Regions from separate parts of the Homo sapiens genome. Here all the other regions are linked to region 1. The links are contacts of gene promoters, found by promoter capture Hi-C in blood cells and fetal thymus (Javierre and others, 2016). All regions are on one chromosome and are shown on one strand. The core of a region is centred on a gene start or on the middle of the fragment in contact, and the rest is flanking DNA. Distances in the headings are between cores, read along the strand shown.

What was found. The method cuts DNA at HindIII sites, captures the fragments that hold promoters and counts their contacts. A CHiCAGO score of 5 or more calls a contact.
Region 2: a fragment that was not itself captured here is called in contact with the fragment with the promoter of PAPPA in region 1 in 5 of 17 cell types (M2 macrophages, M1 macrophages, megakaryocytes and 2 more); the score reaches 15.0 in M2 macrophages.
Region 3: a fragment that was not itself captured here is called in contact with the fragment with the promoter of PAPPA in region 1 in 2 of 17 cell types (M2 macrophages and M1 macrophages); the score reaches 6.9 in M2 macrophages.
Region 4: a contact is called between a fragment that was not itself captured here and the fragment with the promoter of PAPPA in region 1, in 1 of 17 cell types (M2 macrophages). The highest score is 6.3, in M2 macrophages.
Region 5: a contact is called between a fragment that was not itself captured here and the fragment with the promoter of PAPPA in region 1, in 4 of 17 cell types (M2 macrophages, M1 macrophages, megakaryocytes and 1 more). The highest score is 9.1, in M2 macrophages.
Region 6: a contact is called between a fragment that was not itself captured here and the fragment with the promoter of PAPPA in region 1, in 1 of 17 cell types (M2 macrophages). The highest score is 6.2, in M2 macrophages.
Region 7: a fragment that was not itself captured here is called in contact with the fragment with the promoter of PAPPA in region 1 in 2 of 17 cell types (M2 macrophages and M1 macrophages); the score reaches 11.4 in M2 macrophages.

The regions. Positions count from the first base shown.
Region 1 is chr9:116,152,388-116,155,397 of GRCh38, reverse strand. It overlaps PAPPA (pappalysin 1), which reads right to left and starts at 1,607. Exons shown (of 22, transcript NM_002581.5): 1 at 811-1,607. The coding sequence starts at 1,225. The HindIII fragment of the contact is 9,307 bases long and covers 1-3,010 here.
Region 2 is chr9:116,642,497-116,645,506 of GRCh38, reverse strand. All of the region lies in intron 17 of ASTN2 (astrotactin 2), which reads left to right. LOC105376240 (a long non-coding RNA gene) reads right to left here. Exons shown (of 3, transcript XR_930277.3): 3 at 1,210-1,294. Among named protein-coding and RNA genes, the nearest start is that of TRIM32, 43 kb to the left of the region's middle. The HindIII fragment of the contact is 676 bases long and covers 1,264-1,939 here.
Region 3 is chr9:116,622,987-116,625,996 of GRCh38, reverse strand. All of the region lies in intron 17 of ASTN2 (astrotactin 2), which reads left to right. The region is part of intron 1 of LOC105376240 (a long non-coding RNA gene); the gene reads right to left. Among named protein-coding and RNA genes, the nearest start is that of TRIM32, 63 kb to the left of the region's middle. The HindIII fragment of the contact is 4,425 bases long and covers 1-3,010 here.
Region 4 is chr9:116,592,467-116,595,476 of GRCh38, reverse strand. All of the region lies in intron 19 of ASTN2 (astrotactin 2), which reads left to right. Among named protein-coding and RNA genes, the nearest start is that of ASTN2-AS1, 90 kb to the right of the region's middle. The HindIII fragment of the contact is 5,700 bases long and covers 1-3,010 here.
Region 5 is chr9:116,556,918-116,559,927 of GRCh38, reverse strand. The region is part of intron 19 of ASTN2 (astrotactin 2); the gene reads left to right. It overlaps ASTN2-AS1 (ASTN2 antisense RNA 1), which reads right to left. Exons shown (of 12, transcript NR_033973.1): 11 at 2,278-2,321. Among named protein-coding and RNA genes, the nearest start is that of ASTN2-AS1, 54 kb to the right of the region's middle. The HindIII fragment of the contact is 4,648 bases long and covers 1-3,010 here.
Region 6 is chr9:116,524,310-116,527,319 of GRCh38, reverse strand. The region is part of intron 19 of ASTN2 (astrotactin 2); the gene reads left to right. The region is part of intron 1 of ASTN2-AS1 (ASTN2 antisense RNA 1); the gene reads right to left. Among named protein-coding and RNA genes, the nearest start is that of ASTN2-AS1, 22 kb to the right of the region's middle. The HindIII fragment of the contact is 1,896 bases long and covers 563-2,458 here.
Region 7 is chr9:116,487,614-116,490,623 of GRCh38, reverse strand. The region is part of intron 19 of ASTN2 (astrotactin 2); the gene reads left to right. Among named protein-coding and RNA genes, the nearest start is that of ASTN2-AS1, 15 kb to the left of the region's middle. The HindIII fragment of the contact is 6,694 bases long and covers 1-3,010 here.

The DNA of each region.
Region 1 (3,010 bases), core at 358-2,857:
AGGTTTGCAATCCTCGCAAAGTGTCCGATTTCACTATAGGCTTTGCTGTGGAACAGCGAAGGGGAGAGAGAGGGAGGTTGAGGAGGGAGAACTCAAATTCATTACGGGCTCATAAAGTCCCATATGAGAAAAGCGCCCCGTTTCGCAGCCGCGTCTGGGGAACGCTGGCGGGGTATGCGTTAGGAAGGTCTCGTCCCAGCCCCGAGTGACAGGCAATGGGCTTTAAAAGCTAGGACATGGGATGGCGTGGAGGGGGTGAGGGTGAGTCCCAGAGGCAGGCTTCAATCAGTGAGCAACTTTGGGGCACTTCGAGGACTTCTAAGTCCTGGCCATTACAACAACCTTGCCCTTGCCGGCTTTCAGGGGAATGGGGCCTAATGAAGGGGAGTTACCTCCATTAAAACGTCAAAGAAATCAACGGTCCCCAAGTCTCCTTTCACATGCATCTCAATTGGGTCATCCTCCCTTTCATCCCAAAAGGAGAGAGTGCATCTGACCATTCGGAGCACGGGTTACGTGCCCTAGGCTCCGGGAACCAGCCCTCACTGGCCGAGGGTCCGCGGGGCCGCCAGGAGGGCTCCCCAGGTTCCTCCCAGGGATGGAGCAGCTACGCCTTCCGAGTGTGCCCATTCCACCGATGGAGCAAAGTGAGGCTCTCAGCTCGCCCGGATGTCTCTGCGCCGCTCGCGGGGCAGCTCTCGCACAGACACGCCCGCAAGCCCCCGACCCGCCCGCCACCCGCGCCCAGACACCCGCGAGCCTCTGGGGCCGCAGGGACGGTGCAGCGCCCGCCGAGGCGCCCTCACCTACCTGTGATCACTGCCGGAGACCTCTGGCCCCCCTCCGCTCGCAGCCACACTTGCAGCGTGAACGCGTCCCGGGGCAGCTCGAGGTCGGCCCGGAGGCGCAGCTGCTCGCCTCGCCCGCTGAAATAGAGCGCCCGGCTCGGCGGGCTCGGCTCCTCGGTGGCGCCCCTCGCCTCCCGCTGCTGCCGCCGCCGGGGGACGCGCACGGCTTCCCAGGCACCGCCCGGCGGCGGCGGCGGCGGCGGCGAGGCGCGGCGGCCGCGGGCCGCCCGGGTGGCGCAGGTGGCCGGGCCGGCGGCGGGGCGCGGGGGTCGGCCGGCCCGCGGGTCTCTCCGGGCCCGGCGGGGACGCTCGGCCAGCCCGCAGCCCAGCGCGGCGCTCAGCAGCCCCAGGTGCAGCACCCAACTCCAGAGCCGCATGTCCGACGGTTCCCCCCGCCCCCCCTTCGCCCCTGCACCGCCACCCGGAGCTGCCAGCTTTGGGAGCCTCGGCGCCTCGACTTTCTTCGCTTCTTCACCCTTCTTGGGCGAGCCCCCCTTTCCACTTGCTTTTTTCTTTTCTTTCTCGCTTTCCTCCTCAAGGTGTGTGCTCCACTCTCCCCACCTTTGAAAAATACAGCCCAACTCCTCCTGGTTGGCAATTAATTTCTCTCCCCGCTCCTTTATCTGCCTTATTTTTCCCCTAACAGCTGGTTGCCTTCCTCCTTGTTTTATTTCATTTTATTTTATATGATTTCTCGCTCCAAAAAAAAGCTCCTCTTAAGACTGATCCGCTGAATTCCCTCCCCCCAAAAGATGCTCTAATTTATTTATTTTTTGCGTCCTTTATAACACAAGCCACAGCCCCCTTCTCCCCCCCCAAGTCCCCCCTCCCCTCCCTCCTTCTTCTCAAAATGAAAGGAAAGAGGGGGAAAAAATCCCTCAGAAGATGAGTAAACAAGCGTATGCTAATCTGCTCCCCAGCGCTCCACCTTCCCAATTGAATGAGTCCCTGTTAAAACTGCGGGGATCATGACTAATCAATCAGTTTGGAGAGGCCGAGCTATCCAGCTTTCCTTCACTTTGCCTTTTGCCTCCTTTCCTTCGCTCCCGCTTCTCCACCACCCCCTCCTTTTCTCTCTCTCTCTCTCTCTCTTTTTTTTTTTTTTTTTTTAAGGAGACAATCTTAAAGTAACAATTTAATGAAATTCTGTACACACCCCCTTACGGTCCTCCCAGCTCTCATTCCTGCTCAAAACACACATTCCTGTTTTTGTTTTGTTTTGCTTGCTTTTTTTCCCTCCCTCACTCCCCCCACTTATTATTATTATTTCTGATGGCAGGAGAAAAATCTGTCTCTTCTCTTAGGATCCCCTTTGCACTTTGCTGGTAAACCTCATCCTTTTCTGTAGCACATAAAGAGTCTTGAAACTTGATTCTTAGATTTTTTTTTTTAATTCTCTCTCTCTGTCTCTCCCTCCCTCCCTCTCCCTCTCTTTCTCTTTTTCTCACTCTCTCCCTTACTCTTCTTCCCGCTTCCTCTCCCTTTACCTCTTTCCCTCTTCTTTTCCCTGTCCTTTTCCCTCTCAGAATTTCCTTAAAGTTGTACGATGATGAACCATTCCCCTCTTTTCTGAGCCCCCAGATAAGGCTGGCTTCAGCTAACCCAAATGTTTCCAAAGTTCTTATGGAATCATCAGAAGAAAATAGAAGAAAGGCACTGTCCAGGACATCTGCCTTTCAGAAGCTGTAGTCCTAGTACAACTGGGTCTCTGAATTTCCCCGAATACTCTTTAAAATACTCTGTTGGTCATTAGAAATTATTTTAATTTTATAAGAAGAAAATGAGAGAAAAATATTAATTTGCCTAATGTTTTCAACTTAAGCAATTCAGGTCCTCTGAAATTGTTAAAGTCACAGGTAAGGATCTGACCATTTGCTGCTTTGTAGGTCTGTTTTTGAACTGGGACATACATGTAATATATTTTTTTCTTCTTTTTTCCCCCTCTTTATAGAACTCAAAAGCTCCCCCTTATGGCAAAACAGATCTTCTTTTATTTTGTCCAAGTGTTTAATAAGTCAAAACATGTTAGCAATGGTGGATTACAAGCTATTAATTACCAATCTATTCCAATAAGGTAGTGATAAAAATATTCTGTGTGAAGTTTGCATGTGAATAGCGTGCTGAAAGTCTGCGATAAAATTAACTCCACTAAATTGTAACTT
Region 2 (3,010 bases), core at 352-2,851, 490 kb before region 1:
CATTGGACCCTAGCTCCTTGGGTAGTTGGGGTCTCCTTAGGTACATTCCAGTGAATGCATGGGAAAAGATGATGCCTTCTGCCTAAGCTGGAAACGAGCCCTTGATTATACCTTGTGCTGTTGTTTTGAACAAGAGAAGCAGGGAAAAACTCTTTATGAAGAATAATTTGATTAATGCATAAATCTCCTCCCTCCACCTGTTAAATGGCTCTTACACAGCCCAAAGCCACAGAGCTTGGCTCAGCACAACTGGTGCTTAAATGTACAAGACTTTGTGTGGTTGTTAACTTAGCTCCTGGGTGAAAGAGAGTCTTCCAAGTGGAGGAGGCAGAGGAGTGGCATACTAAAGAGCCAGACAGAGTTGGATTTGAATCCCTTCTCTGCCATTTACTGTCTATGTGATCTGACTTTTACTTATTTGTAAAGTAGGCAATCTAGTATTTATCCCTTTTCATCTCAGGGTTGGGAGTTTTCTTTGGGAAAACTAGAAAACGGAGACACTAGGAATCTGAACTAGGCTCTGTCCTTGATTATTATATGACATTGGACATGCTTCTACTGTCTAGGTCTCCATTTCTTTATCTGTATGATGAGAAAAGCAGGCTAACTTCATCCAAGGTCCCCTTTGGCACTGTGATAAGGTCAGCTCTAACTTCTACCCAGAATATAAAGCAAATCTTTTGAGGTTGGAAGAGGCATCCTGTGACCTGAAATTTGTTTCCCATTCAGAGACAATGCCAATTTTACTCCTTAAATTTAATACTGGGAGGAGAAAGATATACATATCTTGCACTCCATACCAGTGGCACACAATGACATAGCATTTATGAGCAGATAGGGCTATTAAAATCTTATCCTGTTTATTTTACAAATCAACCTCTTTATTTTACAGATAGTAAAACTAAGAACAGAGCTGAGGACTGAGTTTTTTCAGGTCACATAGCCAAGGCTGAATTTGAAGTAAGACATGCCTTCAACCCTTGGAAATATCTTTTATTTTTCCAAGGCTCAGTTTTCTCATCTGGGAAATGGGTGGTGGTAACTTTCCCCACAGCTGTCTGTAGAAAAATTAAGAGACTTTCAATGTTTTGAAGGCTGTAAAATACTCTGTAGATCTGAATGGTTCTTTCCAGCCCTCGGGTTTTCAGACTTCCAATCCTGTGAGCATTTTCTGTTCATGCTGCTCTAGGAAGAGTCATGTGTAATTCTAGTCTTGTGGTTGTCTGACCTTCCAGCAGATTCTTTCTCTCTGCCAGAAAAGCTTGTTTGTTTCATTTCCACTTTTTGGCTCCAACTGAGAAGAGAATTCCAAATAACTACTCTTTGAAGAGAAATTAACAGCCAAGTCTCACCCCCTCCCCCAGTTATTACCAGTACCTACCATCACTACAACCATGACCACTACCGCCACCACTATGCTACACCACTACTATCACTACCAGCATCACCCTCGCTATAGCCCCATCACTGTGATTATCTTGCATTGGTTGCCTACTGTGTGCCAGATACTGTGTTAGAAAATGTGCTATAGAGAGGAACAAGACACAGACTGTGCCTTCAAGGAGCACACAGTCTAGTAACAAGGACACATATGCTACTATAATTACTTACATATGCTACACAAATGCATGATTTATTTTTGAATAGTGCAATAGACATTCCAATAGTGTTAGAAGAGAGAAAGAAACTCTGAGAGGGAGAATCTGGAAACAATTCTTAAAGAAGGGAAGGTGGATATGGGCACATAGTAGAACTGCAAAGCAAGTTTTTTGATGATGAAGACAATAATATCCATCAGATACATATATATGTACTATGTGCCAAAAACTGTGCTAAGGACTTTACATGCTTTATCTAATTTAATCATCCAACAACTTATGAGGGAAGTACTATTATTATCCTTATCTAACAGATAAGGAGATGGAACCCCAGAGAAGCTTGAACCCAGGTCTGTAAGATTTCAAAGCTAGTCTAGACCAAAGTTGGAAAACTATGGCCCATGGGCCACATCCAGCCTGCTTCCTATTTTTATAAATCAAGTCTATGAAACATAGCCACATATCTTGATTTACGTATCATCTATAACTGCTTTCCTGCTGCAACAGCAGAATTAAGTAGTAGCTACAGAAAACAGTATGGGGTGCAAAGCTCAAAGTGTTTACTTTCTAGTCCTTTACAGGAAAGGTTTGCCAAACCCCGGTCTAGACTAAGCAATATTGGAAAAGCAGGAGACAGAAAAATGTGTCAATACTATGTGCTGAGCATGTAGAATAGAAGAATAGAAGAATAAAACCTAACAATTATCGAGTGCCAACTATGTGCCTGGCATTTAAAAAAGTGCTTCATGTGTATTTATATATGTTCTCTTACTCTGTCCCCCTACAACACATTTGAAGTATTCACTATTATGCTTACTTTACAAATTAAAAAACAAAAACCTGAGACTTCAGAGAGGTGAATAATTTACTTAAGATAACATGGCTAGTGAATTGTGGGGTGAGAATTCAAACCCAGAATGTCTGAGTCCAAAGCTTTTGTGTTCAGTCAGCCATTCTTGCAACAGGCCTGAAAGATTTGGTAGAAATAAAACTGGAAAAGGGATAGGCAGAAGGCTGCATTGTGGGCAACTTTGAATGCCATGTTGTAAAATTCGGGTGCTGTGCAAACCATATAGAGTCTTTCAAGATTGTAGGTCAAGGAAAAATATAACTAGATTTGAGTCTTAGAGTAGCAACTATAGCAACAGAAGATGAATTGCGGGGACCAGGACTGATTTTATGGCAAGGGTTGTTAATTTGGCATTTGGGGATCCTTGACTTTATAGGATCTTTGGATGCTCATCCCTAGAAAGTTTTTGCAGAATTATACATTACTTATATTTTTCTCCTGGAGAATAGATCCATATTCTTGACTCAAATGTTGTAGAATACTAAACTAAGAGGGTCAGTGTCAGTTAGATGGGGGGTATATGTATGAGATGGCTGAAGAGTGAGAATTCCATTTACATCAT
Region 3 (3,010 bases), core at 281-2,780, 470 kb before region 1:
AAAAAACAAAAAACACAAATTTATGACCTTGCCATGGAGAAGTTCACAGTTTGATAGGCGAGGACACACAAATAAGCAAGTTTCAAGGAAATGTGAAATTTGTAAAAATTGAATGAGAGGAGAGAGGGACAAAATCTCTCAAGGTGTGGCAGGGTCCACACCTCCTTCCTAGAGTTCAGTAAGGAGGAAGAAGTGGAAAAAGGGCACTTCAGACCAAAGGCACAGCATGAGAAAAGGCTTGTGGGTATGAAATAGTGCATGCACTACTGTAAGAAGTTGGCATGTGCTAGATCACAGAGAGGGGTGCAGGGGGGTTGAGATGGGAGAAGAGTCATAAGCTGAAGAACAAAGGAGGTTGAATCAGTGGAGGCTTTAACCAGAAAGTGTGGAACATTCAAAAGGCTCCAAGCAAGAGGTGTTTTAGAAAGCTGTGAGAGGACATGCTGGAGAAGGCAACATGAGAGTGGGGAGACTAGTCCAAAGGCCACGGCAAGTGCCTATAGAATGGGCGGCACCAGGGAGACAGCAATGGGGCCAGAGTGGGGAGGGTTTCTTTATTTTTTCCAAGATGGAGTCTTGCTGTCGCCCAGGCTGGAGTGCAGTAGCGCAATCTCAGCTCACTGCAACCTCCACCTCCCGGGTTCAAGCTATTCTCCTTCCTCAGCCTCCCGAGTAACTGTGATTACAGGCACCCACCACCACACCTGACTAAGTTTTGTATTTTTAGTAGAGTAGAGATGGGGTTCCACCATGTTGGCCAGGCTGGTCTCGAACTCCTGACCTCGTGATCCACCCGCCTCGGCCTTCCAAAGTGCTGGGATTACAGGTGTGAGCCACTGTGCCCAGCTGGGAGGTTGGTTTTGAGATGCCTTATAAGGTAGAGGGTTGACCACCACTTTTTGGCTAGAAGCACCAAACTGACATGGGAGATACAAGTAATCCTGGGGAAGAAGAGGATCACAAACATGCACACACATTTTCTTTGCTTTTATCATTTATTTGGTTTGTTTTATTCAGCATTCCATGTGAACTTTTAATTCAACAAACATTGACTGCCTTATGTTAAATGCTAGATACTGTGTTTGGCCCTAAAATGGAGCCAGTGGGTAAAAAGATAATAGATTTTTTTTTTTTCTCTAGAAAGCCTTTTCCCGCTTCATTTGTTATGGGTTGAGCAGCCATATGACCAAGTTTGTTAATACCGTGGAGATGAAATCCATTAGGCATTAATAAGGACTTCAGAGCATCTTTTTGGAGTCATACAGACCAGAACCATCTTAGTATCAAAAATAACTGACTTGGTATTAGCACATGAAAATATTTTTTAGTGTAAAAATTACAGTCATTTGAAGTATAGAGTGTGGAATTTAATTCATGGGCTTAGTGACATTCTGTGTAGATGTTTCTAAATATCTTAAGTAGAGGGTGTTTACCTAAAGTTTAAAATTCCTAAGATATTGTCATAGTTTTAGAGCTAGAAGAGCCCCCTTCCTTCTGTATTCTCATAGCCTTCTATGTGTATTACTTCATAGCATTTGAACTATAGTAATTGTAATTGTTTGTGTGTGTCTCTTTGCTAATAAGCCACGGATCCTTTGAAGTTAGTGACTTGGTCTTGTTCATTCCCTTTCTTAGTTTCTGGAAGGCACAAGGTATGAAGTAGGAAGTTCAGTGAATGTGTACTGAACTTAAACCTTAGAAAACATATCTTCTACCCCCTCATTTGGAGATAGGGAAATTGAGGTTAAGAACGAGGAATCTTTTATGCAAGTTCAAAAAGGAAAGTAACAAGAGAGTCAGAAATACATCCTAGTTTTTTTTGATTGCTTAATATTTTTGTGGCTGTTTTCTCCTGTTGCCCAGCTTGGTTTGCTAGCTAATTAGCCAGAAGTTGGAAGCGTTTACAAGTCATGGAAATGCAAACCTTCGTTATGAAAACCAATGGCCATGCAAATGTAGCCATTAAGTACAGAATTTGTTTCTTAGGTCCCTCTACTTATTCAAAAACTAGGAGGCAATAATGCCTCCAGTATAAGGTTTCATTTTCTCTCAAACACACAGAGACACATACGCATGCAAACAACACATGCACACACATAAGCACATGACCCAAGCAGAGTGGCTGAACAGGATATTTTGGATCAAATCTTGGCATTTATTCTTCCTGTGTGACCTACTAAGGTCAAGGGTACAAGGATTCAAATGGGCTTTAGTTCAAGTCCCTCCCTGCTCCTGCACGCTTTTCTGTAAGTGGGTATTGAGCATCCATTTCAATGGGTAATTTTGAGCACTTAACGGAGGGATAGAGTAGTTTCATCGTGAAGTTGTTCTATCACCTTGGTCCAGCAAACTAGCATCTCTGGGTCACTGTATCTGCATCTGTGAAACGGATTAGGTTACATGATTTACAGAGTCCTGTGAAGCTGGAACATTCTATGATTTTCCTCCCCCGGGATCTAATTGGACTCTGGATGGAGTGTTGCAAGGACAGAAGAGGTAAGGAAAGAGTGATCCTGCATTGACACAGTGCTGGCTTCTGCAGCCTTATGAGGACTCCCTGTTTGATGCTGGCCTTTTATCAGGGTGTGTTTGTGTTCTAACCAGTGTTTGCCTGGCCATTGCACCAGTCCCCATTCTGTTCCTCGGGGTTTTGGGAAAGAGCCAGTGGATGTGGATTCTTACAGGCAGGATTTCTTCCCAAGAACTGCCTGGATGGTGAAACTTATGAAGTCCAGAGAGATTTCCTGTTTTGTTTTCCACAAGCTCAAGTTCCTATTTATTACAAAAACCAAACACACACACACACACACACACACACACACACACACACACACACACACACACACACAGAGTATGCTCTCTCTCTTCCCATTGCTGGGGTCCAGTGCAACCTTCCCATCTGTGTCACTTTCACCCATGGCCCTGGGTTTCACCGTTATGTTAATTAAGCCTTCAGTGTTGGCTGGAGATGTTACAGAATTTTAAGCCATCAGTAGTTAAGCACATTAAT
Region 4 (3,010 bases), core at 153-2,652, 440 kb before region 1:
TGCGCCCCTGTAGTCCCAGCTATTCAGGAGGCTGAGGCAGGAGAATCTCTTGAATTGGGAGGTGGAGGTTGTAGTGAGCCGAGATCACACCACTGCACTCCAGCCTGGGCAACAGAGTGAGACTCCGTCTCAACAACAACAACAGCAACAACAAGAATGAAGCAAGAGTAATGACATTTGTTAAGTACCTACACCATACCAGAAATTTTGTAAGCATTGTGGGAAGTGTAAAGCTATTAAAGGGAAAGAGAAGATAGTCAGCATTTATTGAACACCTAGATGCCAAGTTATCCTATATAATCATCAAAATTGTTCTGAAAATTAGTTAGTATTATCTTCATTTCACATGTGGGAAAACTCAGGTTTAGAGGGGGCATAGTCACTTACTTAAGGGCATAGAAGTATTAAGTTTGAACTTGAACCTAATTCTTTCTCACTCAGAAATTCTGCTCTTTATCCCTACTCTTGATGGCTTCCAAGGAATCCCTGAAGGGGAAATTATGTATGTATGTGTGTATGTATGTATGTACCTATGTATTTATTTATTTTAATAAAAGGAGAGGAGAGTATAATGAAAAAAACTTGAGGGGGATGTGCTTTTGGCTGAGGGTATGGGGACCATGCTAGGAGCTATTTTCAAGACAGAAATCATGGGAAGACTTAAGCTCTGAGCCAGGTCATATCCTGAGCCAGACACTGCGAGTCACCATGTTTCATACATTGGGTGCAGATGTTCTGTCATCAATGCATGATGAATCATGCCTTAGGAAGGTCAGATCTGGCTGTTCTGCAGCAGCTGAGCTTCTCAAAGGAGTTCTGGGCCCATAAAATAGGGAAGCAGAGGTGATGGAAATGACATCCAATGAGTACTGTTAACTGGCTGAACATAAAGTGACTGCAAAATCGAATGTCAGTGAGACTGGACTCTTCTGATGTTCCTCACCTACTATTAGCTACGTGGACAGTCTTGATAATTATATAGTTTATAAGTGAGGTTCTTCTCCACATGTAGAGTTGATACTAGTGGCTTGTATTTTAAAATTTATTTCTAGCTGACAAACAATTATTGACTACTAGTTCTAATTACTGGGGAAATTCCAGAGACAGGTCTAGCTGTAATTCAAGGTAGAAGATGTGTACTCATTCTGTTTTTGTTTTGATAACCCTAAAACAGAGCTTGAGCACAGATTAGGTAGGTATCCATAGGAAACAGTTATGAAGGATCATGAACAGGACCCAGAAGGGGAAAAAGCCAGTACAGGGATGTGTTCACAAGATTACTATTGATGTATTGAGGCTCTTGCTGGCTTAAAGATGCAAAGCTAGATTATGTCTTCTCTAGCTCCCTATCTCAATTGTTTAAAGATTGATGTTTCTTAAACTTCTAGGCTATACTTGCTCATATGAGCTGAGAGAGGTCCCACGGCATCATTGAAGGCCTTGGGGCAGGAAGTGCAAAGATATACCTGGCATATATTCAAGGAGGTAGGTCTTGGGGCAGCGCAAAGTGAGTTTGAACTCACATTGGAACTGTCCATTGCAATTGAGGCTGAAATCAGAGGCTAAGGATGTGCGGCCTTTGTGAATAAAGTGGGCTTTCATCTCAACCTGGAAGGATGGAAGGGATTTCAATAATAGAGAACAAGTAAGAGGAAATTCAGACAGATGGAAGAGCATAAAGCAAGAAAATCATGAAGATGGAAATGAAAGGTGTCTGGAGAAGTATAGAATGAGCAAGACTGGAATTCATGGTCAAGCGGATGAAAGCCTTGAAGGCTAGGTTATGATATCTGAAGTTGATTCTTTGGGCACTTGAGAGTGATGAAAGTTGTTTATGGGGCTAAGTTGTGATTAGAATACACTTCTCATTCTCAGTTAAGAATGGCTAGATGCAGGTGAACTATCACAGGTGGTTGTAGTATAGAGTAGGCTCTGCCAGACTTGGCTTGCATAGGATCTTGGCAGCAGAACAGAGGATATAATTTGGACAAGTGAAATGAAGGTAAAGATAAAAAGCAGGTTACCTCCCTTCAGACATTCTCTTCCTTTAACATACATGTGGAGAATGGCATTAGCATTCTACTCCACCAACTGGGACAGTTTGATAATTTTTATTAATGTGTGGCCTACTGAGTTACCTCAGCCTTCATCCATCAAGCCCTGTATCATGCCTTCGGCCCACGCCCAGTGCCTCAGAAGCCCATATATCATCCCTTCAGGCAGGGAAGCAGATTCCCTTTTATTTCCCTTGCAAAAGCACAGATGTTACCGCACCCAGCCTTGTCTGGGGTTCAGGCACTGCTTCTCCCTAAATGACCTCCTTGGAATCTTCATTCCCATTGCATTCCAGACAGACAGGCTTTTCTTTTGTTCCTTCACTCAAGAGCTGCCTCCACCCCACTCTTCCAATTCATGTGTCATGGGCAACATATTTGTGTTGCCACATCTGCCTTGTCCCAGCTGCTGAGTCCATTTGCAAGGCAGATATTAATGTTAATCATTGCCTGAAAAATTTTAGACCATGACATTCTGATGCACAGCTCATTGTTAGACTTCATCCACATCTCACCTTTATCACTGGGAGAAGGAAGGCAACATTATGAAGGGAAAAGATCCATGAATGGGTTGTAGGAGACTTGCTTCTAATGCTGAATCCCTTTGTGATCTTGAGATTCCCATCTATGGGCCTCAGTTTCTGTATCTGTGAAGTGAAGTGGTTGAATTCAGTCATCTTTGAGAGCTTTCTATCTCTAAGGTTGTATGACTTTCAGCCTTTAGGGATATTAAATGCATATAGTCACCCCTCTGTATCTGTGAGTTTTGCATTCATGAATGCAACCAAGCTCAAATGGAAAATACTTGAAAACATTTTCCACAAAGTTTTAAAAAGCAAAACTTGAATTTGCTGTATGCCCAGTTGATATGGTTTGGGTCTGTGTCCTCACCCAAATCTCATGTAAAATTGTAATCCCCACTGTTGGAGGCGAGGGCTGGTGGAAGGTGATTGGAT
Region 5 (3,010 bases), core at 136-2,635, 400 kb before region 1:
TTAGAGTGTTGTGAAGAGTAAACTAAGAAGAAAGAGGAAGAAGAAAATGCTCCTGGCTCATATTAATAGTTCAAGGAATAAGAAGGCAGAGTAATATAAAGGCCACAAATACAGGTTCTTAAGTCAAACTTCCCAGGCTCAAATCCTGATTCTGTTACTTATTAGCTGTGTAACTTTGGACAAGTTCCTTAGGTTCCTTGAAGCTCAGCTTCCCAGGCAAAATAAGGAAATTAGTACTAAAGGTCCTTATCCAAAGTCCTTGGTATTAGATGTGATCAGGATTCAGAATTTCTTTTTGGATTTTTAGAAAGGCACTGCAGTGCATACACCATATATTTTGTAACATTCTCGTTGGATTCACAGACAACATCCCCATCATCATACTTCCTACTTCTGCAGTTAGACATGTACATACACAAACACACTAAGTTGAGAGTAAAGAAAAAAGACCATAGATCATAATTTAATTCAGAAAAGAATTATCTTCCAAATAAGTTGTGAAATAAACTGTGTATGTGCTTCAGCCTGTTTCTCAGCACCAGAAGCATAGGACTCTGCATAGAGATGTATTCAGCATATGTTTGTTGAATTTCCTCTCCCTAGATGATTTTCTCGTCCATCTGGTCTGATGAGATATCCAAGGTCTCAGCTCTCTAAATTGGTTTGTGGGACGGAATAAGGTTAGGGCAAGGGATTTACAGTGTAACAAATGCCCCAGAGTGGAGTTTCCAAGGGTCTTTCTGATTGCAACATTTAACACATATGGAAGAGGAGGGGAGATCTCCTCCAGTCCCACAGGTTGTAGGCTTCACCAGGAGGCAAGTTCCTTTGTCATTGCCTGGCAAGGAAGCACATAAAGTAGAGTCGGGTAAGAACTGCTTCCCTACCCTTGAATGTAATCTGCATAAAGGCAACAATCTGTTGCATGTTTTGCTGACTGGTATGTTCTAAGCACCAACAAGAGTGACTGGCTCATAGTAGACACTCAATAAATATTAAATGAACGAGAATGAGCATTTCTTAAGTATCTACCATGTGCCAGGCCATTTAGATAATTTATTTCGTTATCACATCATTCTTGTGTAGAAGGGTATATTCTCATATCCTTTTTACATCTGAGGAAACTGAGGCTCAGACAAACTCAAGCCCTGGCTTTTTCTTCTGTGTCTCACTGTATCAAGATGGGTGAACCTTGTGTCTGGTAGGTACTAAAGATTGAGGATGAGCTGAATGGTCTGAGAATATAGCCCTGTCAGAACCCGTGGCTTGACAAAAGCAAGCATCTCTGAGGAAACATGACTTTTCCGGACCTAAAATTCCTGGGCTGCTTGAGTCTACTTCTCTGAGTTGAACTTCCTGGGCCAAAGCAATGCCAAGTCATTGGCCTGTGGCTGTGCAGTGTCATCTTGCTGAGAAATGGCCCATGTCCTTCCATAAGCTCTCTTGGTCCCCAGAGGAAAAGGGAACCCTGTTATGTAATTCTGGCTCAGTCACTCACTGACTGCACTACCTTAAGCAAATCACTTTTTTCTTTTTCTCTTCAGTGCAGTTAAAAAAAAAAAAAGTAGTGACCATACTTGTCTTGCAGAGGTATGGAGAGAATCAGAGACAGAAAATGTAAAGGGTCTAGAGTAGATTCTGTCATATTAGTAAGCCCTCCTAAGTAGAAGCTGCTACTACTGCTGCTGTTTGTATTGTTATCTTATCTGAAAGTCTCCAGCTTGTCTGCAACATCACAGCTGAATTTTGGGACTCAAGATGGGGTGGGGGCTGTGTGCTGACATTAGTCTGAGAGTACTGTGTGGACAGGGACTCTGCCCTTCATCTCAGCACCCATGATATAGGATATGGTCCATAGTGGGATCACAGTACTCATTTGCTGAAAGAAAAGACTGATCAACAGGGTGGACATGGTCATTCTATTTCTATGCTTATAGCTCTGTAATGGGACTAGTGCAAAAAACAAAAATCGAACAATGTATATTCAATTACAGTCTCTTAGAACTGGGCAGTGCTTGAAGCAAATGCAAGTTCAGAGCTGTTGAAAACCCCAAGAACCACATGAGAGGTCTATGTTTGCTTGTTTGTTATGAAGTTTTATTTGTTTGTACTATCACTCTGCCTCTTTCATCCTGAGGGTTTATAATTGCTCAAAGACAGAAGATATTACATTCTTTATATACACGTAGGAAAAAGGTATGGAAATTACATGCCACAATGTCAAAAGAGTTTTTTTGAAGATCTTCCAAATTATAGTACTTTCACTTCTGTACCAACCTGTGGTTCCTTTAAGGACAATTTCCAAGCAGCCATGTCTCCATCTAAATTGAGAGCAAGAAGGACACATAAAGAAACTCGTGGCCATCCATCTCTTGGCATTTAGGAAGGGCCATAAAAGGGAAGGGAAATATTATTTATAGGCTTCTATTACCTGCTACATATCATGCTGTGTGCTATAAATACTTTCATTTAATCCAAGAATACTGCAAAAATTAGACACTTTCATTTAACTCAAGAATACTGAAAAGTTAGGCATCTCTCTTCCCATTTTACAAAAAAGAGACTGAGATATAGAAAAATTAAATATGTTCTCCCAAATAACATATCTAGGAAGTTGTAGTGATGTACTCTCAAAATTCTGTACTTTTAACCACTATATCACTGAATTTTTTCTTTTCTTTTTTTTTTTTTTTTTTTTTTTTTTGAGACAGAGTCTCGCTCTGTTGCCCAGGCTGGAGCACAGTGGCATGATATCAGCTCACTGCAAGTTCCACCTCCCAGGTTCACGCCATTCTCCTGCCTCAGCCTCCCGAGTAGCTGGGACTACAGGCACCCGCCACCACGCCCGGCTAATATTTTTGTATTTTTTTAGTAGAGGCGGGGTTTCACCATGTTAGCCAGATGGTCTCGATCTCCTAACCTCGTGGTCCACCTGCCTCGGCCTCCCAATATATCATGGAGTTTAACAACACTTAGTTAAACCCAGTAGTAAACATATTAACATACCTCT
Region 6 (3,010 bases), core at 261-2,760, 370 kb before region 1:
TGAAATTACTTATATATTTTAGATATTAGCCCCTTATCAGATGTATGGATTGCAAATATATTCTCTCATTCTGTAGATTTTGTCTTCACTCTGTTGATTGTTTCCTTTGTATTTTAGTTTGATGCAATCCTATTTGTTTATTTTTGCCTTTGTTGTGAGTGCTTTGGGGGTCATATCTAAAAAATCATTGCCAAGACCAATGTGATGGAACTTTTCCACTGTTTTCTTCTAGTTACTTTATAGTTTCAGGTCTTATATTTAAGTCTTTGCTTCATTTTGAGTTGACTTTTGTACATGATGTGAGAGTCCAATTTTATTCTTCTGAATGTCAATATCCAGCTTTCCCAGCACCGTTTATTGAAGACACTGTCCTTTCTCTGTTGTGTATTCTTGGCTCCTTTGTTGAAAATTAGTTGGCTGTAAATGTGTGGATTTATTTCTGGACTTGCTATTCTGTTTCATTGGTCTTTGTGTCATCAGACATTCTCTAATCACTTGCTTTGGGCCAGAATTGGATCTGAGCATCTAGGATACAGATATCGGGCTGAGCTCATCAGAAGCTTAAACAAATCTGCTAGGGATGCATACTAAAAATCATGATGAATCAAAAATTGTATTTCTGAAACTAAAATTTACTTTCGCAGTATTTCTGAAACTAAAATTTACTTTCACATCTTTTGTCACTTTTTTTTTTTTTTGAGACAAGTTCTTTCTCTTTTGCCCAGGCTGGAGTGCAGTGGCATGATCTCAGCTCACTGCAACTTCTGACCCCTGGGTTCAAGCAGTTTTCCCACCTGAGTCTCTCAAGTGGCTGGGATTACAGGCATGAGCCACTGTACCTAGCTAATTTTTTGTTGTTCTTGTATTTTTAGTAGATACGGGGTTTTACCATGTTGGCCAGGCTGCTCTCAAACTCCTGGCCTCAAGTGATCCTCCCACCTTGGCCGCCCAAAGTGCTGGGATTACAGGCATGAGCCACCGTGCCCAGTCTTTTGTCACATTTACTACTCACACCAACCCCACAGAGTAGGTATGATTATTCCCATATTACAGGCAAGGAAAGAGGGGCTTTTAGCTGTTTCCATAATGTGGTGCACATGCATATAGAAGAAACTGGAGCATATATGTGAATATGAACCTTCTTTTATCCTTTTTGTGAAAGAAATCAACACCAAATAACAGAGGTTGGGTCTGGATTAGAGAAGAACAAATGAAGTGGGCTGTGAGGAGGTTTTGGATAACAGAGGTCTTCCTAGAGAAGATGGCACTTGAGCCGGACCTTAGAAATGAGTAGGATGTCAATAAGAAGGACTGTAATGGGGACAGGCAAGAGGATAAGGTGAAATGATCTACCAAGTTGAGGGAATAGCATAGGAAAAAGCAGAGAGGTGTGAAATTGGGAGGTCTGTTTGTGAATGAATCTGTAAGGGATGGTTTGTGGAGAGAGTGGGTCTGGAATGGTGAGTGGGATTGCATTATTTAGGGTGACTGTAAAGAGCTTTGACATTTTTCTCAGGCCCATGGATAATTATTAACGACCTTTCAACAAGGAGACAGTATAGTAGGAGTTTTGCTTAAGCTGGCACCTGCAGGATAAAGGAGTGAGAAGGCACACTGGGAATTCTCAATACTTCTTCTGCCACTGCTATTGAAGGCAGGTGGCTTGCTTAATAATTCTCCTGTGCCTGCTGCCCCAGGTTACCACAATCACTCAAATTCATGGACCACTATTAGAGATGAGATGCATAGCTTTTGGATGTGAGTTTCAATCTGATGCTTGATTATATATATGACAGTGGCCAAAAAGGGCAGAAGCCATCTGTGGTGCAAAGGCTCTCAGACTGGATGAGGGGAGGGCCGATGAGGAAGTCCTAACTCCTAAGAAGTCACCTGCTCCCATGCTCTGGTGCTTCCTCCTATGCCACATCTTCCACCCTGCAGCCTACGCTCTGTTGGGAGGGCCCCAAGAAGGAGCATGATCTACAGCACATACTGTCCACATGTGTTCCAAAAAGTCAGGTCACCTCTTGAATCCTTTACTGCTTAGACATTTCTTCTGTCAGAGATACTCTAAATCATTTATGTAAAGTTCAAAGTTCCACAGATCCCTAGGACAGGGACAAAATGCCACCAGTTTATTTGCTAAAGCATAGCAAGAGTGACCTTTGCTCCAGTTCCCAATAAGTTCCTCATCTCCGTCTGAGACAACCTTGTCTTGGACTTCATTGTCCATATTACTATCAGCATTTCAGTCAAAACCATTCAACAAGTCTCTAGGAAGTTTCAAACTTTTCCACATATCCCTGTCTTCTTCTGTGCCCTCCAAACTATTCCAAGCTCTGCCTGTTACCCAGTTCCAAAGTCACTTCCACATTTTCAGGTATCTTTATACCAGTGCTCCACTTCTCCTCTTCAGTTCTCTTTTTGTTGGAGCTTATGAATTTTGGAAGTTGAAGCTTTTTTGGATCAGAGATGCCTAGGCTGCTTAGAGACAGAACAGGCATATCTCTACAGAGAGGAATGGGTACCTTGGCCATGTAACCCTGAGAAGGAATGCCAACTTTCATGTGAAAGTCATGTGAGGGGCTCACATCCCAGCAGATCAGAAAGGTACTAATAAGTTTTCAACATTGTACAGGGAACTTTATGGTTTTCAAAGTGATTCTGCCAACATTTCAGTTCACAAAACACCAAGGGAGTACGAGTTTTTATGCCTTTTGGGCAGGGAAGGAAACTGAGACTCAGAGAGTTTAAGGGTCATTCAACTCAGAGCAGGAAAGCTGAACTGGAACTCATGTCATCTTGCTCCAAATATAGAGCTCTTTCCATTACACCAGGCTGCCTCTCAGAAAGCAGTGAAAGCCTGCAAGGGAAAGGTGTTTCTGGCACCTTTGCACGGAAGGGAACTCTGACCACATTTTCCCATGGAAACATTTTCACCTATGTTGGTTATGATCTATGGCTGAAATAGTAAAGTACTGTGTTTCAGCAGTATACTTGCCTTCCAGTC
Region 7 (3,010 bases), core at 270-2,769, 340 kb before region 1:
GTAAGTTTCCTGAGGCCCCTCTAGCCATGCAGAACCATGAGTCAATTAAATCCCTTTTCTTTATGAGTTACCCAGTCTCAAGTATTTCTTCATAGCAATGTGATAATGACTAATACACTCATGAAGATCCAGCTCTCTCATTGGCTATCTGGAAACAAATTGAAAAGCAGACAGACATGGACCCAAGCTCAAAGAAAACAAACACATGTAGCCAGACTTGGAATCCTGAGTACCCAAGTGAAATAAGACCCTCACTCCATCTAGTGAATAATCTCATGTCTTTTCTCTCCCCTACCCTCACCCTCACCACCAATGCCCCCTTTTTTTTTTTTTTTTTTTTTTTTTTTTTTTACTTTTTATCACATACATTGCTCTGGAATTTGTGATATTTTTTGAAATGGACATATTGTTAGTTTCTGGTTGTACTATGAAAGAAACTGATATAAGAGGCCTACAGAAGAAATGTGGGATGCCAAAATTATGCTGAATAAAAGATTCATTCACATCTTCATTTTCCAGACAAACCTCTGGTTCTAGGCATCTTTGTTTCTTTCTAGACCCTTGGCTTTACTCTGTAGACTCCAAATGCATGAGAGTGCTGTTAACTCCTTGTAACAAAAAGAAAAATGGAGACATTGAGAAGTTTAAGGACTTGCAGCCCATGGTGGAATTAGTACTCAGTCTCAGGTCTGTCTTGCAGTGGCAGCTGAAATTGCCTGTTGCCAACACTACCCTGATTTAGACACTTGATCCTAAATCTAGCATCTACGCGTCAAGTCTATGAACCATGTATTGTCTTCGTGAAAAATAGAAACCAAGAAACAGTACCCATCAAGACCTGCTCTATTGGACTAAAGGAGCAAATACCTTCTAGAACTGTTGTTCGGCTGAATCCCAGGGCCATCTGGCCAATTCAGTCAGATAAGTCTTGCAAGATTCACTTGTGAGACGAAGAATGAAACTCTTCTTTTTAAAACTGTTTTTCTTTAAGAATGAAACTTTTGGGCCAGGCACAGTGACTCATGCCTATAATCTCAGCACTTTGGGAGGCCAAGGCTCAGTAGTTTGAGACCAGCCTGAGCAACAGGGTAAGACCCCATCTCTACAAAGAATACAAAAGTCAGCTGGGTGTGGTGGTGCATGCCTGTAGTACCAGCTATTTGGGAAGCTGAGGTGGGAGGACCTCTTGAGCCTGCGGGGCAGAGGCTTCAATGAGCTGAGGTTGCACCACTGCACTCCAGACTTGGCAACAGAATGAGACCCTGTCTCAAAAAAATTAAAATTAAAATTAAAAAATAAATAAATAAATAAAATAAAGAATGAAACTTTTCTTTGAAAGACCAACAGGAAGTGATCTGTATATTCTGCTCAACCAGTTCCTTGGTAGAGAAGCACCACCAAGCTGCTCTGAGTCCTAATCTTCTGAAACACGAGCCAACACTATTGTTCTTTTATGGTTTCATGACATTGTCTTGTTCTTAACCCCAGGTAGAGAGGATGTAATGGAGCTGGCACCCTTTTCTGGTTTATTAGTGGGGCTGTACATGAATAGAGCTCTGAGGAACTCTCTATCAGGCATGAAGAAAAGAAGAAAACAACAGTTGAGAGGCCTCATATCATTTTATACTGTGCGGTATAAAAATACCTCATATGTCAGTTTTTTTCCTAGATCATCCAATTTTAGAATTAGAGGGGAACTTAGAGGCCATTTAGTCTGGCCCATTTACTTTATCTATTTTTAAGTAATTTTTATTGATATTTTTATGGGTTACAAAAGCAATATATGTTTATTGAAGATAATTTTTAAAATAGAGATAAGCAAAAATAAGATAGAAAAAGTGCCCATTATGTCACTCTCCAGACAGTCCACCTTAAACATTTGTTTTTATTTTCTTCCTTCTGTTTTTAAATGCATGTGCATATAAAATTTCTACAAAAATGAGATTATTTTGTAATAGTGTAACCTGTTTTTAACTTCACATTATGTCATAAATATCCTTTCATATTCTTTCACAGATTATTTTTAATGACTATAAAATAGCCTATTGCATCATTGAACTCAATTGATATAGCCATTTCTATGTAGTTGGACATTTAGCTGTTTCTACATTCTTGCTAGTATAAATAGTACTGCGATGTTTATCCTTATAACTTAATTTTTGTTCATATCTGTATTTTTATTTTATTTTTTTCAAGAATCCTAACAATGATTCTGGCACCTTCACCATGCAGAGGAGAAAACTGAAGCACAAAAAATGAGGATTTAGTTGCCCAAGACTATACAGCAAATTCTCAACAGAACTAAGACTAGATCCCAAGAGTCTAGATGTTCAGTTATTCTTTCTAGTTTTCTTTACTTCCTAGACTTCTTTATTAGTTCTGTTTCTAGTAAACTTCCACTACTTCTTAAAATCCAATGGTTAGATTTAAAGTAAATTAAAGAAGTGATGGAGTTTGAGGATCACAAATATGTGGCACATAGTCTCCCATTGTTCCATCCTGTACATGGTGAACGTTCCATGACATCATGTACATCCTGTACATGGTGAAGGTTCCATGACCTTCATCACTAATCAATCACAGAACTCTTTACTCCTTAGCTGGTCTCTGTCCATCTCACTATAACACTCCATGAATCCAGTACCCATGCCTAACAGTGGCAATTTGACATGAAAATTATTTTACATCTTTAGTCCAGTTCCTTCATTATACAAAGAAGGAAAATGCAATTCTAAGAGAGAAGAGCTTTGCTCAAGGAGTTAACAGGGAGTGAATAACAGTGACAAGGCCAGAATAGTTACAGAAAAAAAAAAGCATAATATCCTTGCTACCTTTTCATAAATTTTTATTACACAATAATTTACCTCATTTGAGTCTTGCTACAATCTTATAAAGGTAGGTATTAGTGTTTCCACTTTATGGATGAAAAAATTGCGCATAAATATGAACAAAGAGTCATCAAGGCTAAATACAAATCTGTTTCATTTTCATATCTTTTGCTTTTTCTATC